Linked DNA regions of Homo sapiens: region 2 is linked to region 1. Evidence: promoter capture Hi-C in human tissues and cell types (Jung and others, 2019). All regions are on one chromosome and are shown on one strand. The core of a region is centred on a gene start or on the middle of the fragment in contact, and the rest is flanking DNA. Distances in the headings are between cores, read along the strand shown. Region 1 holds the start of PRL (prolactin). Region 2 has its middle 42 kb from the start of PRL.

The links. The method cuts DNA at HindIII sites, captures the fragments that hold promoters and counts their contacts. A contact is called where the count stands out against the background at its distance.
Region 2: a fragment that was not itself captured here is called in contact with the fragment with the promoter of PRL in region 1 in 1 of the 25 tissues and cell types used here (hippocampus).

What each region holds. Positions count from the first base shown.
Region 1 is chr6:22,294,134-22,299,234 of GRCh38, reverse strand. It overlaps PRL (prolactin), which reads left to right and starts at 2,199. Exons shown (of 5, transcript NM_000948.6): 1 at 2,199-2,280; 2 at 4,651-4,826. The coding sequence starts at 2,253. The HindIII fragment of the contact is 8,347 bases long and covers 1-5,101 here.
Region 2 is chr6:22,335,802-22,341,301 of GRCh38, reverse strand. No RefSeq gene overlaps it. Among named protein-coding and RNA genes, the nearest start is that of PRL, 42 kb to the right of the region's middle. The HindIII fragment of the contact is 5,085 bases long and covers 1,130-5,500 here.

The DNA of each region.
Region 1 (5,101 bases), core at 950-3,449:
TAAAGTTTTAAAATGTACAACCCTATTCTTACTGAACTTCTTTATTGTTTTAAATTAAGGGCACAGTTTGATAAAGAGAAAGCCTGGCAAGAAAGCACATATAAAAATTAAGGTGAAAGGGGGTAACATGCATAGCAGTTAGAAGAATTAGGACAACTATGATTTTTGCATAATATATGTCTTTGCATTATTTATATATTTCAATATTCCATTCACAGGAAATGTGGGGCTATGGAGCAGCAAGGAGACACACAATAAATTTTACAGAGAAACCTGTACCTCTTTGCAGTCAAATAAATCGACTGACAGACCCTGAATAAACACAGCTTAGGTTTTCTTAGATTGCTCTTATCCTGGCTATCCAAGAATGTTGCAACACCTTTAAATTTTAAGATTAAGTTGTCATTGTCAGTTCTTATAACAGATTTTCTTACTCTTAAGTTTATGGGAGAGGAGGAGAATATAGGATAATGTTAATTTCTCTGCCACACAGCTCTGCTTTCTTAATAATTCAGACTCTCTCCATCCAGGGAAAAAATGAATACCTAATGTGAGTATATGGAATCCTGACCCAGCTTTCAGATTGAGAGAGTCTATGAATCATCACATTTGATGTTTATGATTCAAAATGTAGGATTGCCTTAAACTAAGGCAATTAGGAAGATAGTTTTTCAGAGACGTTAGTCTTTGTTAAGATTTCTAGGTCCCCATAAGAGCACTTAGTCAGATAATTGCTAAAGCACATATGTGGCTCTAGGAACTAAGGAAAAAGTAAATGCCATAGGAAGACTATTTTTTAAATTACCTCATTCATCAGTCTATTGTAAGAGACAGCAAATTTGAAACTAAAGGTCACAGGCTGCTTTAGATGCATGGACTTAAAAATTAGAGAAAGTCATCAATAAAACTTAGTTCTTATTCATTATAGTCATTTCATTTAGGAAATTTCCAAAAGGTGAATGGAATTTTTAAGCCCATGAAAGATGAATTTTTGTCACCTTGGCCTCAGAGTGGCTCAGGGTCAGAGAAGGTAGAGAGATCATAAGTTAATAACAGTTTACACACTGCTATCCTTGAAAAGAGTGGAAATTACTGGCTAGAATTTCAGTTTATTACATGGTATACCAGAATGATGGGTGTAAGTGTGTCTGTGTGTGTGCACACACATGTGTGTTTGCCCTGGAAAACTACTGCATCACTTCCCCAAAATAAACTCTTAAATCAGGGGTTATAGCTTGTTTGTCTTAGAAGTGGGTCCACAGGATGTTTACAAGAGAATTCATTTCCCAGCCTTCCTCATATGACTCCTGATTTTCCGTGAAGTAATAATTGTTCCTTCATTTAACTCAACTATAGAATTATTAGGCTGGTGCGCAAGTGACTGCAGTTTTTACCATTTAAAAGTAAAGCCCAAAACCTCAATTACTTTTGCACTGAACTACTTCTTTCATATTCTTTACCTTTAGTCTCTCCAAGCTTCTGTTTCTTCATCTGTAAACTGGAGAGAATAATACCACTTAACACATATGTTAAAATCAAAAGAAATAAACAGATGAAGATGTACATTCAAAGTACCATACAGATACGCTATTTTTAAAAAGACAAAACACATGTATTTTTAAAAAGACAAAACAAAATGTGTATTTCAAAAAGATAAAACAAAATGTAAAAAGCAACAAAATGAAGGAAATTTAATGACAGTGTAACAGGGGACTGAAAATCCTGATTTCTCAATCCTTATTCTATATCTCTTGGTATTTAGTGTAAAAATTTTAAAATCTTTACCTAGCAATCTTGAGGAAGAAACTTGATAACTGATAATACATGAGATTGTTACCTAAGTGAAATATAATCCTATATATTCAACAAACTTTAGAGAAATAAGATAAATTTTAAAGTAAATGACTTCTGTAGTTTTATAGATCCTCCAAACCAATCTAGTCTCAGATCTCACCTTCATCATTTCTCTCATTTCCTTTTGGCCTAATTAATCAAAATCCTTCCTAGAATGTTCATTTCTGGCCAGTATGTCTTCCTGAATATGAATAAGAAATAAAATACCATTTGATGTTTGAAATTATGGGGGTAATCTCAATGACGGAAATAGATGACCAGGAAAAGGGAAACGAATGCCTGATTCATTATATTCATGAAGATATCAAAGGTTTATAAAGCCAATATCTGGGAAAGAGAAAACCGTGAGACTTCCAGATCTTCTCTGGTGAAGTGTGTTTCCTGCAACGATCACGAACATGAACATCAAAGGATCGCCATGGAAAGGTATGTGTGACAACTCACTGCGTTGTTGGTTGTATCAACACTCCTGTGGGGGGATTAATGTGAAATTTTAACTAATAACAAGAGCTTGCAGGTTTACAAGGTTTAGAAGCACAATCTTATGTTTCCTCTAGAAAGCAATTTTACAAGGGCACCATAGAACAGAACAATGGTTCTCAAACAGGGGAATCCTCTCTCAGAGGCATTTGGCAATGTCGGGAGATGTTTTGGGTTGTCTTAACTGAGGTGGGGAAGTGAGGGAAAAGTGCTATTGGTATCTAATGGATAGTGATGAGAGATGCTACTGAACATCCTTCAATGCACGGGACAGCCCCCAGAACAAGGAATTATTCAACTCAAAATGCCAATAATATCAAGATTGAGAAACTCTGGACTAGAATAAGACTCAAAGAGTCTGTGGGTCCAATTTGCCACAACTCTCAAAGGGACAAAGTAACATTTTCTGGTTATCAGGCCTCTAATGTGGATTGGCCAACTTGAATCAACCTGATGAAACTTTCAATTGTGAAGCCATAAAATAGACACTAACAACAGAATTGTCTTTCCTATTCTTTGTCAATTTGGTTCAAGCCAAATGACATTTCAAAAGGAAAAACAGACTGCCTAGTAATAACTAATCACCTTTACTTTCTTGGTTGACATTTGCAAGGAAAATAAATTAGTAACAACCATAAAATGTGTTTCTAATTAAATGAAGAACAAAAACATGTGTCTATTTTATCTCGTTTTGGGCTTTAAAAATCCTTTCCATGCTAAATGTGCAGATAAATGTACTCAGAGTTACAGAACATCTATCCAGTTGTGAATTTCCTAGACCTGCTATTCCAATTCCTCTATCTACAAAGCACATTTTATTTACACATACAGATAAAATATACATTTGGTTTCGTCATATGATTATAGTATGCATAAAATAAACTTTTTGGAAGAATCATGTTTTTGAAAAATTAAAAGTCTATAATAGGAATCATCTCAAACAAAAATTTTATTTTACAACTAACAGATTTAGTCACTTCCTACACTAAGCAATTTTTTAGGTATTTTTAAGTGTTTAGGTTTAGGTACTTTTTCACAAACTAAACTTTAGCATTTGCCTAGTTTTATCTTGGGCATTTCTGATTGCATTTCTTAAAGGTTTTGAAGGACTTAAGTTTTGTGATAAACACAGTTTTATATTGGGCATTCTTTTGGGGTAATGCCACTGAAGTTAACAAGTGATTTTAATTTGGTAGCTATCTATCGTTTCTTTCCTTTTGAAAGTATAAATTATTGATATATATAGGACTGTAACTGTCCATTTGCTGAGATAGCAAATTGATGACAAAGCTTTGAAAACCTTCAGCAAAGATCAGAGTGTTTTGTAATTAGAGCAGGAAAAGTGGAGAAAATCAAGCTTTCTGGGGCCTCTGTTGTGATGTAATCAATCAAAGGCAAAGAACTTGTTATTCTTTAAAAGTGACAGCAACAACCTATGTAAACACTGAGCCATCACGGCTACTCATGCGGCCCCCATTACACAGATGCAGATTGACAGCCCACAGGTGTACGCGATGTGACAAGACGACGTGCAAAGACCACAGTATTGGCATCATGCCTCTCTCACCCACTAATGATACGACTTGGGGAAAATCACTTAACCTCCCTAAGCCATCTGTTTCATCAGTATAATTTGATGATAATTACAAAGGCCCAGTGTATCTCACAAGGTTATTATGAAGCTCAAATATAAAAAAAATTTAATGTTTTTGGCGAAGTGTCAAACACATGCATGGGACTATTACGAGTTAGCAGATCTAAACTACAGCATTATTTTTATGTTAGAATTCTTTTCAAACTCAGTATTAGCAATCAAACAATCGTGTGTTTATTCTTATCAGGCAGGATGATAAATCGAAAGGATCGACTGTACTGTTTTTGTTATATCAGTGTCTACAATGTAAATTATCAGACACACCTAGTTAAAAAAAAAATTACAAAGTGCTGGGCAGCCTGACTGCTGAAAATCTGCAGAAACTCCCAAGACATTAAACTATCTTAAGAGAATGATCCAAACACCCTAGCTCAGAATTAATTTAAGCTCCAAATGTTTGGAAAGTACAGAAGCACTTCTGGGAAACGTACAAAAATGCAGGAGGTAACCCACTTCTCAAACTATATATCTGTGCAAACATAATTATATATCTACATTTACACAGTGGAAGGCGTTTGTTCTTCCCCCATCCCAGCCATTACAGTAGCAAATCAGGCAGCTGAGGGCAGTGGGGAGCAATAAGGCTTTCCTCGGCAGGATTACTTCTGAAAACCTCCGTGGAATAAATCATCTCAGAGTGGCTCGCGTTCTTATTTAAGCAGGGTCCCTCCTGCTGCTGCTGGTGTCAAACCTGCTCCTGTGCCAGAGCGTGGCCCCCTTGCCCATCTGTCCCGGCGGGGCTGCCCGATGCCAGGTGACCCTTCGAGACCTGTTTGACCGCGCCGTCGTCCTGTCCCACTACATCCATAACCTCTCCTCAGAAATGTTCAGCGAATTCGTAAGTACCATGCTTCTGGCTTCCTCCCTGAAGGAGCCTTCACATGAACTACTGGGCTCTGCTACATGTTAACCTAGAAAACCTCCCGAGCCAAATTTCAAACGATACATTTTAACATGTGAAAGAAGACACCAGCTCATAAGATGTGGAACAAGAAGAAAGGGACAGTGCCATGAAATCTCAAAGATTCTCAAAGAATGTAATGACTTAAATTTTTTCTTTAATTCACTTTATTTTTTAAAAATAAAAAAATTTAAACACCTGACCTAAAGCAT
Region 2 (5,500 bases), core at 2,423-4,922, 41 kb before region 1:
GTTGCTACCGGAAAGCCTCACATCTGGATGGGCTGTAAAACTTGTTGTCACCAATAGATTACAAGGAAATGATTTTATCACTTTCAGGCCAAGATAGTTAAGAAGCCAGTGCCCTTTCTTTTCCCTTCCAGCAGCTGGTAGCAGAACTCCAGGGAGTTAGGACATAGCAGAATCACAGGATGGAAGGAGTCTGGACCTTCACCACAAGGAGAAAAGCTACCTGAGAACAGGAAACATCTACATTAGAAGGTTAATGAATGAGCAATGCTCATCAGAACTGAAATGTTGGCTTTTGCTTGTCACTGTGCCTCATAGTACCCTATGTAAGAATGCTGTTTTCTAGGCAACATGATCACATAATTTCAAATCCAATCCTGCCCAATAGAACTTTCTGCGGTGATGGAAACATTTCTGACAATCCAACATGGCAGCCATGAACCACACAGGACTATGGAAAGAATTAAATTTTTATTTATTTAATTTTAATTAATTTATACTTAAATTTAAATATCTGCATGTGACTACCATAATGAGAAGCTCAGTTCTCACCTTTGGTAATAACTTTCCAACTTTCAACAGTATAGAGAAAATCCAAGGCATTTTTCAGCATAACTTCCTACTTTCCTGTAGCCTGTGGTGCTAAGTCTTGAACAGTTTCACAGAAGTAGGGGTGAATTTTGGTGAATTAAATTTGTTTTTCCAAAATTAAAGAAGATGGCTAACAATGATCTACATCTATTATCTCTAAAACATATATTATGTTTTCTTCAGAAGCATATTTAAAGGTAACTTTTGTGGTTGATTACCAGCGGGCATAGGGCAGGGGGTTCATCAGGAGAGTCTAGAGCAGGGGTGTCCAATCTTTTGGCTTCCCTGGGCCACACTGGAAGAAGAATTGTCTTGGGCCACACATAACATACACTAGCACTAACAATAACTAATTAGCTAAAAAGTAATACTCACAAATAAATCTTATATAATGTTTTAACAAAGTTTATGAATTTGTGTTGAGCCACATTCAAAGCCATCCTTGGCCGCATGCAGCCTGTGGGCAGGTTGAATAAGCTAGGAGACTCTAGAGAACTATATCTTTTGCTACCCGGGGCCAACTGCTGCCCATTGGGTAAATATTACAATCTATATACTCTCTTCCTCTTCCCTCATCTTGTCAGTAAAATTTCTCAAGCCATCAAATTGTCCAGAGCTACATGGGCATAGATTCTTATATCAATAAATATAGGTAGAATGTGAATATGAATCACCACAGTGACCCATATGGCCAAAGTCTCTCTCTGATTTCTATGGTATTTCTATAACCAGTACCCTAGGAATACCTATATAATCCTGAAGTATAAACCTGAGGTTCCTTCCCTTCTCACAAACTCCTCACAGTGAACACACTGCGGGGAGTGGTGGTGTTCATGCAATTCGCTCTTCATTCTTCCTCACTGTTGGCTTGACCACTATCTTGCCTCACTCTCTTCTTTGCCCCAAGGTTCAGTGCAATTGAGAGCGTCATTGTGTCCTAGCCTGAGTCCTAGGACTTGAAACAGTTTCAGTATTCTGGCAAAGCCTGGTACCATAGAGTAAAGCAAATCAGATTTCTCTAGAGACATGATCATAAAGTAACAGTAACAGAATCTGAATCAACAGAGTAACATAATAGGCAAATCCTGTTGTTGTTGTTGTTGTTGTTGTTGTTGTTGTTGTTGTTGTTGTTGTTGTTTTTGAGATGGAGTCTTGCTCAGTTGCCCAGGCTGGAGTGCAGTGACGCCATCTCTGCTCACTGCAAGCTCTGCCTCCCAGGTTCACGCCATTCTCCTGCCTCAGCCTCCCAGGTAGCTGGGACTACACGTGCCCGCCACTACGCGCGGCTAATTTTTTGTATTTTTAGTAGAGACGGGGTTTCACCGCGTTAGCCAGGATGGTCTCGATCTCCTGACCTCGTGATCCACCCACCTGGGCCTCCCAAAGTGCTGGGATTACAGGCATGAGCCACCGCGCCCGGCCCTGTTGTTTTCAATGCTTCAAATTTCTTACTGCTTTTCTTCTCGGTAATTTCATTGGATGTGGAAAAACAATTTAAGAAATTAGTATTTATCACTGTTTATAAAAATAAGAACAAACAAATCTAAAATAATACTGTCCAAAAAGGGAAAAAACAGATGAGACCCTTGTCAATTTTTAATTGGCAATGCAAAGAGTGTCACACTAATAAAACTGAATTAAATCATTAAATATTTAAAATGATTTTCTAACTGTAGTTTCTTGAATGAATACCCTTTTATATATTCGAAACTCTATTATGAAGTCTACATGTAAAGCAACATCAAATGTTAAACCAAACAATTTGATGTATTCATCTCAGTCAAAAAGCCCAGTTCATTTGTCCCGTAGAAATCTAAATCACCTCAGAACATGTCACAATGTATATTTCCCTCACATCAGGAAACATATAATAAAATACCATTACAAATACATCACCCACAAAGTAGTCCTACCTTATAAAATATAACTCATTCATTTTACATGTTTCATTTCATTTCAGTAATAATGTAAAATAGCATTGCCCAATTTACGATGAATGTCAAATTTCTGGTAGAAGACGTAACAGATATTTACTAACTTCATTTTTTGTATCACTCAAACAACCAACTATATACATAAATATATGTCTTCAGCCTTCTTCAAACAAATATTTCTTATGGCAAGGAAAAGCTATTTTCCTGTATAGCAAAGGCAGAATTAGACACACAATTACTTCCTTTACTAAAAGATACAATATATCAGTCTGTTGTTATACAGATTTGAATTTATCTTTTGGGTAATACATCTCCTCTTAAATAACACTACATATATTAACTTAATGGTATTGAGCTACCAAAGCAATAGTACCAATAAATAAAGACATACAAAAAACACAAGTATTCTCCTGGGTTGTTTTACCCTGCCCAAATCAAAGGGGAAGCTCATCTGTTTGCAGCTACGCTAAAAATCACATTAGGCAGCTTTAACAGGAAGCAGGAATCATAGCTCTTGATGAACCTGTAATTTTGATAAGTATGGAGATCTTTCTCTCTTGAAAATGCTTCAAACTCTTTAGTCTGGAAACAGACACGCGAGAACTTGCAAAGCACTCTACCTCGCCTCTCTCTGACCTGTCTAGTGTTCCTGTCTCACCATATAGTTCATTGCCCAAATCACAAACTCTACTAATTTTTTTTCTTCCTTTCCCTTACAATCATCCAAATCTGGCAATTCTACCAACACATCTTTTGTATCTATCCACATCATGAGCTGCCATGCCTGGACTTCGCAAGAGCCCCCTGTCTTCTCTCCCTTGGTTTGCCTTTCTTTAGGTTGCATTACACTTTCAGACTACGTCAGAGCTTGTTTTAAACCTGTCTTTTCTCAATCTTCTCAATACCCAATACTCTTTTGAGCTCTCATAAAGGAAAAGCAATGAAGATCTCTGAAAGAAGGAAGATTATCCAAGCAGACAAAATCCTGCTTCAGTGAAACACTCTTATAAATGTACACTTAAAGCAGCTGCTTCACCTTTAAAATGAATAACTGACATGCAAGAAAAACTATACATCACCTTTAAAATGAATAATTGACATGCAAGAGGAACTATACACAGTTTTCTTCTTTTTTATTTTAGCAGAAACAGTAGTTACACCTAAGGCAATGATAGTTGAGATGTCCGGTTTTTAACAGAAAAACTCATAGTCTGTAACTATGTTAGTCTGTGCTTTTCTAGGGGAAAAAAACGTTGCTTTCATATTCCTCCTAAAAATTTTCCTCACTTCCAACCTCCTTAAAAGTTTACCATTCTTTAAGAAAATAACTCAAAGTCATCAACATGTCACATCAGTCCCTTCTCAATCTAACCCTAAATTATTTTATACACCCCAACCACATACCCCATGCTCCAGGCAAAATGGGCTAAAAGGAACTTTGAACTTTCAGCGGCTCTCTGGACAAAGCTTACTCACCCATCTCCATGTTTTTGACATGCCATTCCTATACTTCTAAAACTGCTCAGTTATGCAGGCATTTCTTGGACTTTGCTTCCAGAAAATAAGGACATATGTTTAAAACCCTAGAATTATATTTTACAACCAAACAGACCTACCAAATAAAGAAGCATTTTCAGATAGAGAAACGGGTTAAAAGGGAAGGTTATAAAATAATGAAAAATTCAAGTGCACTATTTCAAAATTGTAAGGGGATTTTTAATCCTCCAATTTTATAACTGAAAATATTGATTTTAAATGTACATTATTGTCTCTTGCCTTTTAGACATCTACACTGAATTTTAGAAAGAAACAACATGCCAAGCACAGTGGTTCTCACCTGTTATCCCAGCACTTTAGGAGGCAGAAGTGGGAGGATCACTTGAGGCCAAGAGCTCACACTCAGCATGGAAAACGTAGTGAGAACTCCGTCTCTATAAAAAAAATTAAAAATTAGCTGAGTATCATGGTGCATGTCTGTAGTCCAACCTACTCTGGCGGCTAAGATGGAAGGATCATTTGAGGCCAAGAATCTGAGGTTACAGTGAGCTATGATCACACTACTGCACTCCAGCTTGGGCAACAGAGTGAGACACTATCTCTAAAAAAGAGAAAAAGAGAAACAACGACATTGGTATTTACTGTAAATAACATCTTAGGTGGTGTTGTGCGTGTGTTTTCTTTTTTAACTTATCCTTTTTCTTTCTCTAGGAAGAAATTTTACTGCAATAAAGAAAAAGGAATAGATGATATTCTGTCATTGTATAAGTTTATTGTCCAAGAATAACCCCTCAACAAGTAACCATTATAAGTGTATTGTTCAAGAATATTATTTTCATAAAATATATTTTCTAAATACATACAAATAGCAGATTTTTCTAAAAAACTATCTGTATTCTCTTCTCCGATCTTTTAATCCAATAAATTGGAGCAAACTACTAAAAGACTTTCCAGAAATATGTTTTTCAATGAAAACTTTTTTTGAAATTTATTTTTTTTTGAGACAGCCTCACCCTGTCACCCAGGCTGGAGTGCAGTGGTACCACCTCAGCTCACTGCAACCTCCACCTCCTGGGTTCCAGAGATTCTCCTGCCTCAGCCTCCCGAGTAGGATTACAGGCATGCGCCACCATGACCGGCTAATTTTTGTATTTTTAGTAGAGATGGGGTTTCACCATGTTGGCCAGGCTGGTCTTGAACACCTGACGTCAAGTTGTCTGCCTGCCTCAGCCTCCCAAAGTGCTGGAATTATAGGCATGAGCCACCATGCCAGGCCAAAATTTCTTGGTATTATAACATGGAAGATGAGGCTTTAGTTGTTCTAGTCATAGGTGGCATTCTGTATGTTTTAGTGACTGGCTGGCTATCAATACAGCCTATCTTTCCAGGGAAAACACTTTTATACCAATATTGGGGGCGGGGAGAATGTTTGAATGGCTTATTGAAGAATAATGCTTAAAAAATTAAGTACCTAAAAGGAA